Regions from separate parts of the Homo sapiens genome. Here region 2 is linked to region 1. The links are contacts of gene promoters, found by promoter capture Hi-C in human tissues and cell types (Jung and others, 2019). All regions are on one chromosome and are shown on one strand. The core of a region is centred on a gene start or on the middle of the fragment in contact, and the rest is flanking DNA. Distances in the headings are between cores, read along the strand shown. Region 1 holds the start of BEST1 (bestrophin 1). Region 2 has its middle 46 kb from the start of DAGLA.

The links. Contacts are between HindIII fragments. The study calls those that stand out against the background at their distance.
Region 2: a contact is called between a fragment that was not itself captured here and the fragment with the promoter of BEST1 in region 1, in 1 of the 25 tissues and cell types used here (liver).

What each region holds. Positions count from the first base shown.
Region 1 is chr11:61,945,739-61,951,676 of GRCh38, reverse strand. BEST1 (bestrophin 1) reads right to left here and starts at 1,326. Exons shown (of 11, transcript NM_004183.4): 1 at 1,250-1,326. It also overlaps a transcript of RAB3IL1 not described here. RefSeq lists a silencer at 5,465-5,628. The HindIII fragment of the contact is 11,891 bases long and covers 1-5,938 here.
Region 2 is chr11:61,630,946-61,636,883 of GRCh38, reverse strand. It overlaps the pseudogene RPLP0P2. Among named protein-coding and RNA genes, the nearest start is that of DAGLA, 46 kb to the left of the region's middle. The HindIII fragment of the contact is 4,659 bases long and covers 355-5,013 here.

The DNA of each region.
Region 1 (5,938 bases), core at 77-2,576:
CCATAGGGACCCTAGGAGGTGGATGAAGTGGTCTCCAAGGCCCTGCCAGTTCTGACTGCCTTTTGGAAGTAGAAACGCAAGAAAGTGAGCCCAGAGGCTGCCCTTTGCTTTGGCAGGGAAGACGTAGATAGGCGTGTGCATTGCCATGTGCCTTTAACTTTCTATAATCACTGGGCGCAGTGGCTCATGCCTATAATCCCAGCACTTTGGGAAGTCGAGGCAGGTGGATCACCTAAGGTCAGGAGTTCGAGACCAGCCTGGCCAACATGGTGAAACCCTGTCTCTACTAAAAATACAAAAAAATTATCCAGGCGTGGTGCGGGTGCCTGTAATCCCAGCTACTCAGGAGGCTGAGGCAGGAGAATCGCTTGAACCCAGGAGGTGGAGGTTGCAGTGAGCTGAGATCACGCCATTGCACTCCAGCCTGGGTAAGAAGAGCAAAACTCTGTCTAAAAATAAATAAATAAATAAATAAATAATACAATGACAAAGGCAGTAACAGCAGCAATGTCTACACACTAAGCTCAGGTCCTCTGGGCTAGGCAGTGTTCTCAGCCCATCTTGTTCGTTAGCTCCCAAGCTCTCTCAACCACCCTAGTGTGAGAAGTATGGAAGGGACCAGGCAGCCCTGTCCACCACCATATTCCCATTCCCATAATGGAACCTAGCTGGTAGAGATGCTCAAATGATGTTTACTGAATGGTGGCTCCAGGGCCTTTCCACCTGCTGATCTTCCTGCCTGGAGGAAGCTCTTCCTGAGATACCTGCATGGTTCCTTCCCACTCCAGGTTCCCTTTAGAAAGGATGTTCCCAACCATCCAACCTGGAAATAGAGCCCCACTGCCACCGGTGCTCTGTGTCTCCTCACCTTGCTTGATATTTCTAGAGAGCACTTATCACTACTTGAAATTATACAGGATATCTGCCTGTTTCCTGCCTGTTTCCTCCTCAGAATGGAAGCTCCTCTTGTGTTCTCGTAGAAGGCGCTCAATAAAAATTTACTGAAGCAGTGATTGATGCCCCCTCCATTCTTTCCCTGTGTGTTTTGCTGCAGCCACACTGGCTGGCTGTGCCTGATGCACACCAAGCTCATTCCCACCTCAGGGCATTTGCACAGACACACAGGTGCCCACACACCTGCGCATGTGCTGCCTGTGTGTGCATATCCCACACAAATACGCAAGATGGCCATCCAACCCTGAAGGCCTCAAAGCCCCAGCCCAGTCCACCTGGGGCACCTTGTACTCACAGGTGGGGTTCCAGGTGGGTCCGATGATCCCACAGAAGGTCTGGCGACTAGGCTGGTGGGACTCCCTGGGACTCTGTGGCCAGTGCCCCTGCCCACTCTTAGAGGCTGGCACTGCCCACGTGAGTGCTGAGCCGCCGTCACTTGACTCCCTAAGCCAGGACCTCCACAAAGGAGTCCTTGTCTTAGTCCCTTCTTGTAATCTGCTCAGAAGCAACGGCTAGCACAGCCTGGCCATGGCCCCTCTAATTTCTTCTTGGAGGGTGTTGGGCTGAGACCAGGGCTGGAATTTAGGGCAACACCCCCTCTACCATGGCCCTAAAATCCAGAGGCTAAAGGATCTGCTCCACCAGTGTTCTGACCCCTGAGGCCTTGCAGAGAGAGTTGGGGGTTAGGGGGCTGTGCTGAGCTTCAACTTCTGTGCCAGGAACTCTCCAGGAAGGAGGAGCCTCTGACTAGGCCCTGGGGTCTTTGACAGCCCTGTGGGCTATGGAAAGAATGAATACCGGGCTGCAGTCAACAGTCCTGGTTTCTGGTCCCAGCCTTGCCACCTGTGTGTGGTGACCCCGGGTAGGTTTCAGCTCCTCTCTCAGCCTCAGTGCCCTTATCTGAAAAGGATGGTGTTGCTTGGGAATTTCATCACCCTAGTAAAATGACAGAATTCTGCATATGCTGACGAGGAGCTCTGATTGGCTGCTGGTGACATCATACGTTATTCTGGCTGTGATTGGCTGGCAGGGCCCATCAGTAAGTTGCTTCAGAGAGATGGAAGGAGAAGCCTGCCGGGGCTGGTGGAGGGGGGTGAGTCTGGTGGGGGTTGACAGAACAGCCCTGGAGTTTATGCTGCTGGCTTCCAGCCAGCCAGTGCAATATGGGAATAAATGCCCAGATCCCCACGGGCAGCTGGTGAAAATCTCAGCATGTGATTCAATAAATTTTAATACATCAATCCATACTCAAGGGCTCTCCTAAGCTGTTGGAAGTGGTGGGTGTCTACCTACACACTCCTCTTGTATTGTTCAATGAAGAGAGCAGAGCTCTAGGCAGCAGTGGTTCTTGGTCTTTAGAGGCCGTAAGAATCGCCCAAATGTTTATTAAACGGGCAGTTTTCTGGATCTTTCTCCAGAGTCTGAGTCTGTGGCCTTAGGGATGTTGCATTTTAATCAAGCACTGCAGGGGATTATGAGATGTGTGGTTTTGGGACTAAACTTCCAGAAGCCCTGATTTTATAATATGACCTTGTGTCTTAAACCCACTCTCATCCTCCCTTTCCTGTCACCCTCTCTCTCTGAAATGTACTAAGCGTTAACTATGCTGAGATTGCAGGTGATTTTTCTACACACCACTTTTTTTTTCACTTTAAGTTCTGGGATACGTGTGCAGAATGTACAGGTTTGTTACATAGGTATACATGATGTGCAGGTTTGTTACATAGGTATACGTGTGCCATGGTGGTTTGCTGCACCTGTCAACCCATCATCTAGGTTTTAAGCCTTGCGTGCATTAGGTATTTGTCCTAATGCTCTCCCTCCCCTTGTCCCCCACCCCCACACACCATTTTTGCCTTTATATAATTATCTGCCTAGAAAAAAAAACACTATTTCGCAATGACCTTGAATACTTTTCTAATCATGGCAAACAATAAAGCTGTTGTTATTATAAGACTCTCTTTAGAGGCAGCCTTGTAGGAGTATTTACTGCCTCCCCGCTGCCCCATCGCTGTCCTCAACTGATATGGGGAAAGAAGCAGGTTCACTTCAGCCTCAGTCTCCTCATATGCAAAATGGGACAACGATGCCTACCTTGGCAGCCGAATGAGAATGATGGATGGGACATGTGTCCGTCAACTCTCCAAACCACTGGTGCCTGTGCCTGACCCCTACGAATTCTGATTTGATTGGTCTGGATGGACCCCAGGTGTTGGGATTGTTCAAGTTCTCCAGGTGATTCTGATTTTATGGCCTGTGCTGAGTCATTGCTTAATGGATTATTTCCCTATCCTGTATTCCCTTCCCAACCAACACATCCTGAAACTCAAGAGCTTTCCATTTAGAAGATGATAAATATATATTATATATATTTATATATTAACATATGTAAATATGTATTAATATGTCTATAATATTACAAATATATTTGTATGTACACATATATTTATACATATAAATATATAAGTAAATATATAACTATATTTTTGAGACAAGGTCACCCAGGCTGGAGTGCAATGGGTGTGATTTTGGCTCATTGCAACCTCCACTTCCCAGGCTCAAGCAATCCTCCCATCTCAGCCTCCCAAGTCGCTGGGACTACAGACGCACACCACCACACCCAGCTATTTTTTTTTTTTTTATAGAGATAGGGTCTCACTACATTACCCAGGCTGGTATTGAGCTCTAAGTTCAAGCAGTCCTCCCACCTAGGCCTCCCAAAGTGGTGGGATTACAGGAGTGAGCCGCCACACTCGGCCAATAAGTATGTTTTAACTAAAGTTAACACACATGCCTGGCACCATGCCTGGAACATTGATGCTCATTCTGTACTCTCTGAAGGAATAAATGAAAATCCTGCCTTTGTGGAGACAAGTTCTTGCCTTCCCTGTGGTGGCCACTAGAGAGCGTGCTTGACTAGCTGGCTCTGGCTGGGGAAGCCTGGTTCACTGGTCAGGATCAGTGCAGACCACGGAGCTGGCACTGCTTCATCTCCCTGACCCCGACCAGCAGCCATAGAGCCATGAGAGGGAGTTGGAGACACTAGAGTCCCTCCTCCCTGTTCCCTGAACCGCAGGCTCCTTGGCAATATCCCAGGAGTACCACCAGGACCATAGACAGTGCATGGCCAGTCTCCCTTCCCCTCCCAGAGGCCCCAGCATGTCCCCAGAGACATCCCATGAGCAGCTGCTCCTGGCCCTGCCCCAGAGCTGAGACAGGCACACCCTGGCACAAGTCATGGTCTCTCCTACTGGGTCTCAGCTATGAAAATGTCCCCAGTTAGCCAGGCACGGCTCAGGCACACAGCAAAGTCATGAGTGCTGATTGACCCAAGCCATGCCTGGAACAAGAGTCCCAGGATTGACCCCTGCAGAGATGGCACCCAACCCAGTCAAGGTCGCCCTCTTCTGCTTTCCGTTCCGCAAAGAAAATATTCGCCAAACCATTTCTCCTTCCAGAACTGAGCCTAATCTGATTCCTGCCTGTACGTATTCATAGTCAAAAAATTTGGAAACACTTAAATAACAACTCTAACACAGAATGGCAAGGCCTAAGATCTGTGCCAAGTGCACAGAGGTCAGGGAAATTTTTACAGACAATGGGGCATTTCGGTTGGGTCTTGAAGCATGAGTAGGAGTTCATGGAGCTGAGAAGAATGGAAGAGCATTACACATCAGGGGAACAACCTACGGAAAGTCATAGAGCTATTCCTGAAGGATGATTCAGTATCGCATGTTTATCCACATTTTACAAAGGAGGACACTGAAGCTCAAGGCCTGCCTTGTCCAAGGTCACACAGCTATAAATGGCTTGAGACTAGGATCTAGGTCTTTTGATTTTGGATCCTGAGCCCTTTCCCACTATCAGCTCTACAGTAAAGGTCAGTTTCTGAGAGGTAGAGTCTTACCTGCTAGGGTAGTGGTCTCTCTTGGGGTTGAAGGGAGGTCCAAAGGATGGGGCCTGCATGAAAGATACTTTTTTTTTTTTTTTGAGACGGAGTCTCGCTTTGTTACCCAGGCTGGAGTGCAGTGGCATGATCTTGGCTCACTGCAACATCTGCCTCCTGGGTTCAAGTGATTTCCGGCTAAGTATTGTATTTTTAGTAGAGATGGGGTTTCACCATGTTGGCCAGGTTGGTCTTGAACTCCTGACCTCAAGTAATTCACCCGCCTCGGCCTCCCAAAGTGCTAGGATTGCAGGCATGAGCCACTGTGCCTGGCCGCATGGAAGAAACTTTGACTGCAGCAGATTCCAAGCTCTCGAGCTCCCCAGCAGAGAGCCATCTCTTGGGGCAGCAGGGCAGAGCTGGGGAGATGCGCGGGGGTGCCAGACACAGAATGCTATGGCCTTCTCATCTAGAATTACCATAGCAACAGGAGCATCACAGAGGGCCTGCCTCGGTGCCCTTCTAGGCCCTGCCTCAGCTGGGCAGGAAGAAGGAGACCCAGCTTGGCTGGGGGCAGTAGGCAGGGGGCCCCGGGGTAAGTCAGCCAGGCCTGGATGCTGCCTCCAGGCTTTATGTGGGACACCTGCCAGCCCACACCCCTCTCTTGGGCCAGTCACAGAACAAATAGGGCAGAGGCCAAGAAAGAAAAGGAGGGGGCTTGGCATAGCTGGACAGGGGTGCTGGGGGACACTGCCAGTCCAGGGCCCGGAAGCCAGACAGACAACAGCACCTCCACCCTGAGCTCAGGCAGCCCTGATCCCTGAAGGACGGAGTAAACTCAACATTCAAAGAGATAGAAACATAAGCCCTGGGCACCACAGAAAGACGACAGAAACCAGGAGAGGCTGGGATACACCTAGGTCCAACTTCATCAAACCCAGTCCTGCCCATGACAACGGAATAGCATGGAATAGACCAGAGCTGGACCAACTAGAGACACAAGGCAAGAGGATCCACTGTGCTGCGAGGTCCCCCATGGACTCTGCCAGGCTGCAGTCGGCCAGGTGAGGCACTGACCACTATCCACCTTCCACCCAC
Region 2 (5,938 bases), core at 1,435-3,934, 320 kb after region 1:
GTGCCCTCGGATGGCCTTGCGCGTCATGGCGTTCTTGCCCATCAGCACCACGGCCTTGCCGCAGAGGGACATGCGGATCTGCTGCATCTGCTTGGAGTTCACATTGTCTGCTCCCACGATGAAACATTTCAGATAATCATCCAATAGCTGGATGATCTTAAGGAAGTAGTTGGGTTTCCAGGTCACCCTGTCTTCCCTGGGCATCACGGTGGTGCGTCAGGGATTGCCACACAGGTTTAAAGACGATGTCACTTCCATGAGGATGCCTGGCAAAAGGCAGGCATTGTTTTCTACGCTGCCTGAAGAGTGAAGAGAGGTGAGGTTGGTGGGGTTGGGACTCCAACTCAATTCTGCCTCGTTTCAAAGCCTGTGTTCCTTTGGCTTCTCTCTACCCCTCTTAGCACCCCCAGGGCATCTCAGGCCTGGCGTCTGGACAAGCCGACTGGGCCTGAACCTCACACACCCAGTTGCTCACACAATCACACCCACACACACTGACACACACATGGGCCCCACACTCCATCCACACCTGGAACCTCAGAGCTCAGTAGGGATTTGATACTCAGTCCTTCAAACCAGCTTCTCATCGAGGGGGTGGGCGGAGAGGAGTTATAAGAGCAATTGCTGTAATCCAATCGTCTCTGCTTTTCTTGTTTTCTTCTCTCTGAATACACTTTGCATTAAGGGCTTGTCTTCTTGGTTCCCATGAGAACGCTGTGCTTTTTCTTAAATGAAGGTTCGTTGATCGTTTTTTCCTGTTATTACAAAAGCAATTTGTGCCACTGCAAAAAAGCACAGAGAAGCCAAGAGAACAAAAACTCCTCCCTCCCCTCCTCCAGGGACAGCCCAGGCTGACAGGTGTGGCACTGTCCTCCCCACACCCCTCCTCCCCAGCACACCCTCCTCCTGCCATGGAGCCCCGGCGTCCTCATCAGGCCTAAGCTGCTTCTTCCAGATGGGGCTCCCAGGCTGGGAGTCAGAGGCTGGATCTTTGTTCTGCCTCATCACTGGGTCCCACATGTCCTTGGCAGGTCCTCACCATTTTGGGGTGGGAAGGGGATGATCTCAAAGGGTCTTCTGCCCTCACACTCAAGGATCCTGTTCTCTTATTCCAGACATGAATCTGGGGCTGGGCCAAGCAGCAGCTATTAGGAGTTCCTAGGTAACAAGGGGTTCTCCTAGAATAATCTGGAGACCAGGGGAGGTATGGAACCCAAAGCCTCACTCATCGCCAGCATTGAACAGAGAGGCAACCCTCCCAAGGACAGAGAGCTGAGCCCATTATAAAGATTCTGGTGTCCTGTGTCACAGTCCCAGCCAGCTTCATGGTTGTGCAGCCTTTGCAGCTGCAGAGGGCCCTACACTCCAAAGGGCTAGAGCTTGATTTAATGCTCTGCTGTCAACACCTTGAAATTCTTCATGATGTGTGAGCAAGGGCCCCACATGTTCATTTTGCACTGGGCTCTGCAAAGTATGTAGCTGTCCCTGTTCCTAATAATAATAATACCTGTTACTGACATACAGCTTGCTGTATAGCCAGCACTGCATATTTTTCCTATATACTGTATAATTCACCTGTCCCTCACAGAAGCCCGGTGTAAATTGCCTCTCTTAGATTTGGCCAGCCCAGGTGATAATGTGAACTGGGTGCTAGGCACTTTAGATATGTGACTCTCTGGAGGCTTTCAGCAGTACCAGAAGCCATTGTAAGCCAGGCACCATGGCTCATGCCTGTGATCACAGCACTTTGGGAGGCTGAGGCAGGTGGATCACCTGAGGTCAGGAATTCAAGACCAGCCCTGGCCAACATGGGGAAACCCTGTCTCTATTAAAAATACAAAAATTAGCTGGGCGTGGTGGCGGGTACCTGTAATCCCAGCTACTCGGGAGGCTGAGGCAGGAGAATCACTTGAACCCAGGAGGCGGAGGTTGCAGTGAGCCGAGATTGTACCACTGCACTATAGCCTGGGCAACAGAGCAAGACTCTGCCTCAAAAAAAAAATTATAGATGGGGCACATTATAGATGAGGCATGAAGTCTGGGGAGGTTAACTCCCCTGCAGTTGCAGAGCTAGTGAGGAGCCCACAGACCCTCCCCTCCCTGCCCAGCTGGCCAAGGGCCACCCCAGGGGCTCTGCAGCCCTCATCCTGCCCTAGCCACCATCCCAGCTGTGGTGGGCACCTGGCAGTGCCTAGGGGGGTGAGAAGCTCCACCCACACTGTCAGTTCCCATTTCCACCACCTCCTGATCTGCCAGCAGTTGCTGCACTTCACCACTTCCTGTGCCCAGGTGTGCAATTGGCTTCCTACATGGGGCACGGAGCCGTGGGGCCAAGAGGTGTCAGTCTCCATTTCTCCCCACTGTGCTGAGCTCCCAAGCATTCTTTTTTTTTTTTTTTTTTTTTTTTTTTTTTTTTGAGGTGGATTCTCGCTCTGTCACCCAGGCCGGAGTGTAGTGGCACAATCTTCGGCTCACTGCCACCTCTGCCTCCTGAGTTCAAGTGATTCTCCTGCCTCAGCCTCCCGAGTAGCTGGGACTACAGGCACATGCCACCATGCCTGGCTAATTTTTGTATTTTTAGTAGAGATGGGGTTTCACTATATTGGCCAGGCAGGTCTCGAACTCCTAACCTCATGATCTGCCTGCCTCAGCCTCCCAAAGTGTTGGGATTACAGGCGTGAGCCACTGTGCCTGGCCTGCTCCTGAGCATTCTATGCTACAGGTGTGGCTCCAGGAACTCTGGTTCATCAAAGCTGGTTTCATTTATTTATTTATTGAGACAGGGTCTCATTCTGTCGCGCAGTGCAGTAGCACCATCACGGCTTACTGCAGCCTCAACCACCCAGACTCAGGCCGTCCTCCCACCTCAGCCTCCCAAGTAGCTGGGACCACAGGTACGCATCACTACGCCTGGCTAATTTTTGTATTTTTTGTAGAGACGAGGTCTTGCTACGTTGCCCATACTGATCTTGAACTCCTAGACTCAAAGGATCATCCTGCCTCAGCCTCCCACAGGGTGGGGGTACTCAGCCCCCAATGCTGGTTATTGCTGAGGTAGCCCAGACAGAGATGGTTGATGCCAGAGTGAGCCCAGGCAGCTGGAATTGGAGTGGACAGAATAGCACTAGGAGACCCTCACACACCCAGGCTGACTTGCTCAGCATCTCTGTCTCAGCTCCCAAATCTGTAACATGGGGTAAAGCAGCGTTCCCCAAACTTTTTGGCATCAGGGACCTGTATAAGGAGTGCATAAGGCCAGGAGCGATGGCTCACGCCTGTAATCTCAGCACTTTGGGAGGCTGAGGTGGGTGGATCACCTGAGGTCAGGAGTTTGAGACCAGCCTGACCAACATAGAGAAACACCATCTCTACTAAAAAAAACACAAAATTAGCCAGACGTGGTGGTGAGTGCCTGTAATCCCAGCTTCTCGGGAGGCTGAGGCAGGAGAATTACTTGAACCCAAGAAACGGAGGTTGTGGTGAGCCAAGAACGCACCATTGCACTCCAGCCTGGGCAACAGGAGCGAAACTCCATCTCAAAAAAAAAAAAAAAAAAAAAGTGCATAATCTAGATCCCTTACATGCGCAGTTCACAGTAGGGTTCGTGCCCCTATGAGAATCTAATGCTGCTGCTGATCTAACAGGAGGCGGCACTCAAGCAGTAATGAGAGTGATGGGGAGAGGCTGTAAATACAGATGAAGCTTCTCTCGCTTGCCCTCCGCTCACCCCATGCCGTGTGGCTCAGTTCCTTACAGGCCACAGACCAGTACCAGTCTGCAACCTGGGAGCTGGGGACCCCTGGGATAAAGAAACCAGTCCAGCAGTTAAGAATTTGAGGTTTGGGAATACAACACCCTGAGTTCAAGTCCCAGGCCCAGCACTTAACAGCCATATGACCTTGCGCAGGTTGCAAAACTGAACTTCAGTGTTCTCCATAAAAACACAGCAAAAATGGAGGCATTCTAGTTAAGAACTCAGGCCCGGCAGACCGACAAGAGTTCAAATCCCACCTTGAGCACTTATTAATTATGGTAGCTTGTACAAGTTATTTCACTTTTCTGAGCCTTGGTTTCCTTGTCTGCCAAATGCAGATAATCCCTGCAGCATCCTCATGGGGTTTTGTGAGGACCAAATGGCCTGGTGCCTGTGGAGTCCTTTTCTCAGTCCCTGGCACTTAGTAAGTGCCCAATAAGCCGTTACAACAAGTGCAAACGGATGGGATTGCTGGGACGTCATGAGAGCAAGTGCCCTGCCAGAAGGGTCTGTGTCAGGACAAGCCATGGAATAAGAAAGCCAAGCACAATAGCCAGGTGGCCCTGGGAATTGGTGGCTGAGGCCTGGGAGGGCTGCTTATTGAGTGAGGTCCAGGGACTAAGCCACCAAGAGGCCATTGACAGGTCCATGGGGACAGCTTCATTTAATGGGAACTGTGGCAGTGGGATGAGAGAGACAAAACCAGGCTCACATCAGCCTGGGCTGCCTCCCAGCCTCTCAGCTACCTCTCCTGCCGGGCTCTGGGGTCAGGCTTCCCTCCCCCAACTCCCGCCAGATGCCACTCTGTAAACCCTGAAGCTGTGCTCCCACGCTGCACTGCACCGCGCACATGAATTCCCCGAGGAATTTCTTAATGCGCTGATTCAGATTCAACCGTGGGGGTGGCCCGAGACCCTGCATTTCTAATCAGCTCCAAGGAATGCGAGACCACGCTTTGAGTAGCAGCATCTAAAACATGATATAAATGTAGGTCATGAAAATTAATAATAATGTGGGGTGTGGAGTTACTACCGGATCTGACTAGCAGACTTTGAGAGAGAGCCTGTCTAGGAGAAAATTCTCCCCAGAGGTCAAAAGGAACCCCCACCCCACGTTCTGGGGGTGCTAGGATCTGATTTTGCTCCTAATAGCAAAGAGACAGGCAGAGGGTACCTTTCAGCTTGAGCCACACGGATGGCGGTTCCCAAACTGCAGACCACACACCAGCTGCATCAGAAGTACTTGAGGATTCGTTTTTTGGGTTTTTTTTTTTTTTGGTTTGTTTGTTTGTTTTTTGAGATGGAGTCTCAGTCTGTCACCCAGGCTGGAGTGCAGTGGCACAATCTTGGCTCACTGGAACCTCTGCGCCCTGCTAATTTTTGTATTTTTAGTAGAGACGGGGTTTAACCATGTTGGCCAGGCTGGTCTTGAACTCCTAACCTCAAGTGATCCGCCTGCCTCGGCCTCCCAAAGTGCTGGGATTACAGGCAGGAGCCACTGTGATGACTGAATTTTTTAAAATTACCGATTCTGAGTCACAAAAAGACAGATCCTGTAGACTCCCTTATATGAAGTATCTAAAGCAGTCAAATCCATAGAAACAGAAGTAGAATGCTGGTTGCCAGGGGCTGGCTGGGAGGGAGAATGGAAAATTGTTGTTTAATGGGTATAGAGTTTCAGATTTCCAAGATGAAAAAGTTCTGGATGTCTGCTTTACAATGGCGTGAATATACTTAACAATACTGAACTATCCACTTAAAGATGGCTAAGATGATAAATTTTATGTTATATGTTTTTTCTTTACCATAATGATAGACAGAGTCTTGCTCTGTCACCCAGGCTGGAGTCCAGTGACCCAGTGGCTCTCAACTCACTGCAGCCTCCGTCTCCCAGGTTCAAGCCTCAGCCTCCCGAGTAGCTGGGATTACAGGCGCGTGCCACCACACCCGGCTAATTTTTGTATTTTTAGTAGAGACAGGGTTTCACCATTTTAGCCAGGCTGGTCTTGAACTCCGGGCCTCAGGTGATCCACCCGCCTCAGTCTCCCAAAGTGCTGGATTACAGGCATGAGCCACCATGCCCGGCCTCGTAATGATAATCAAAAAAAAAAAAAAAGATCCTGGGCCAGGCACGGTGGCTCACACCTGTGATCCCAGCACTTTGGGAGTCTGAGGCAAGTGAATC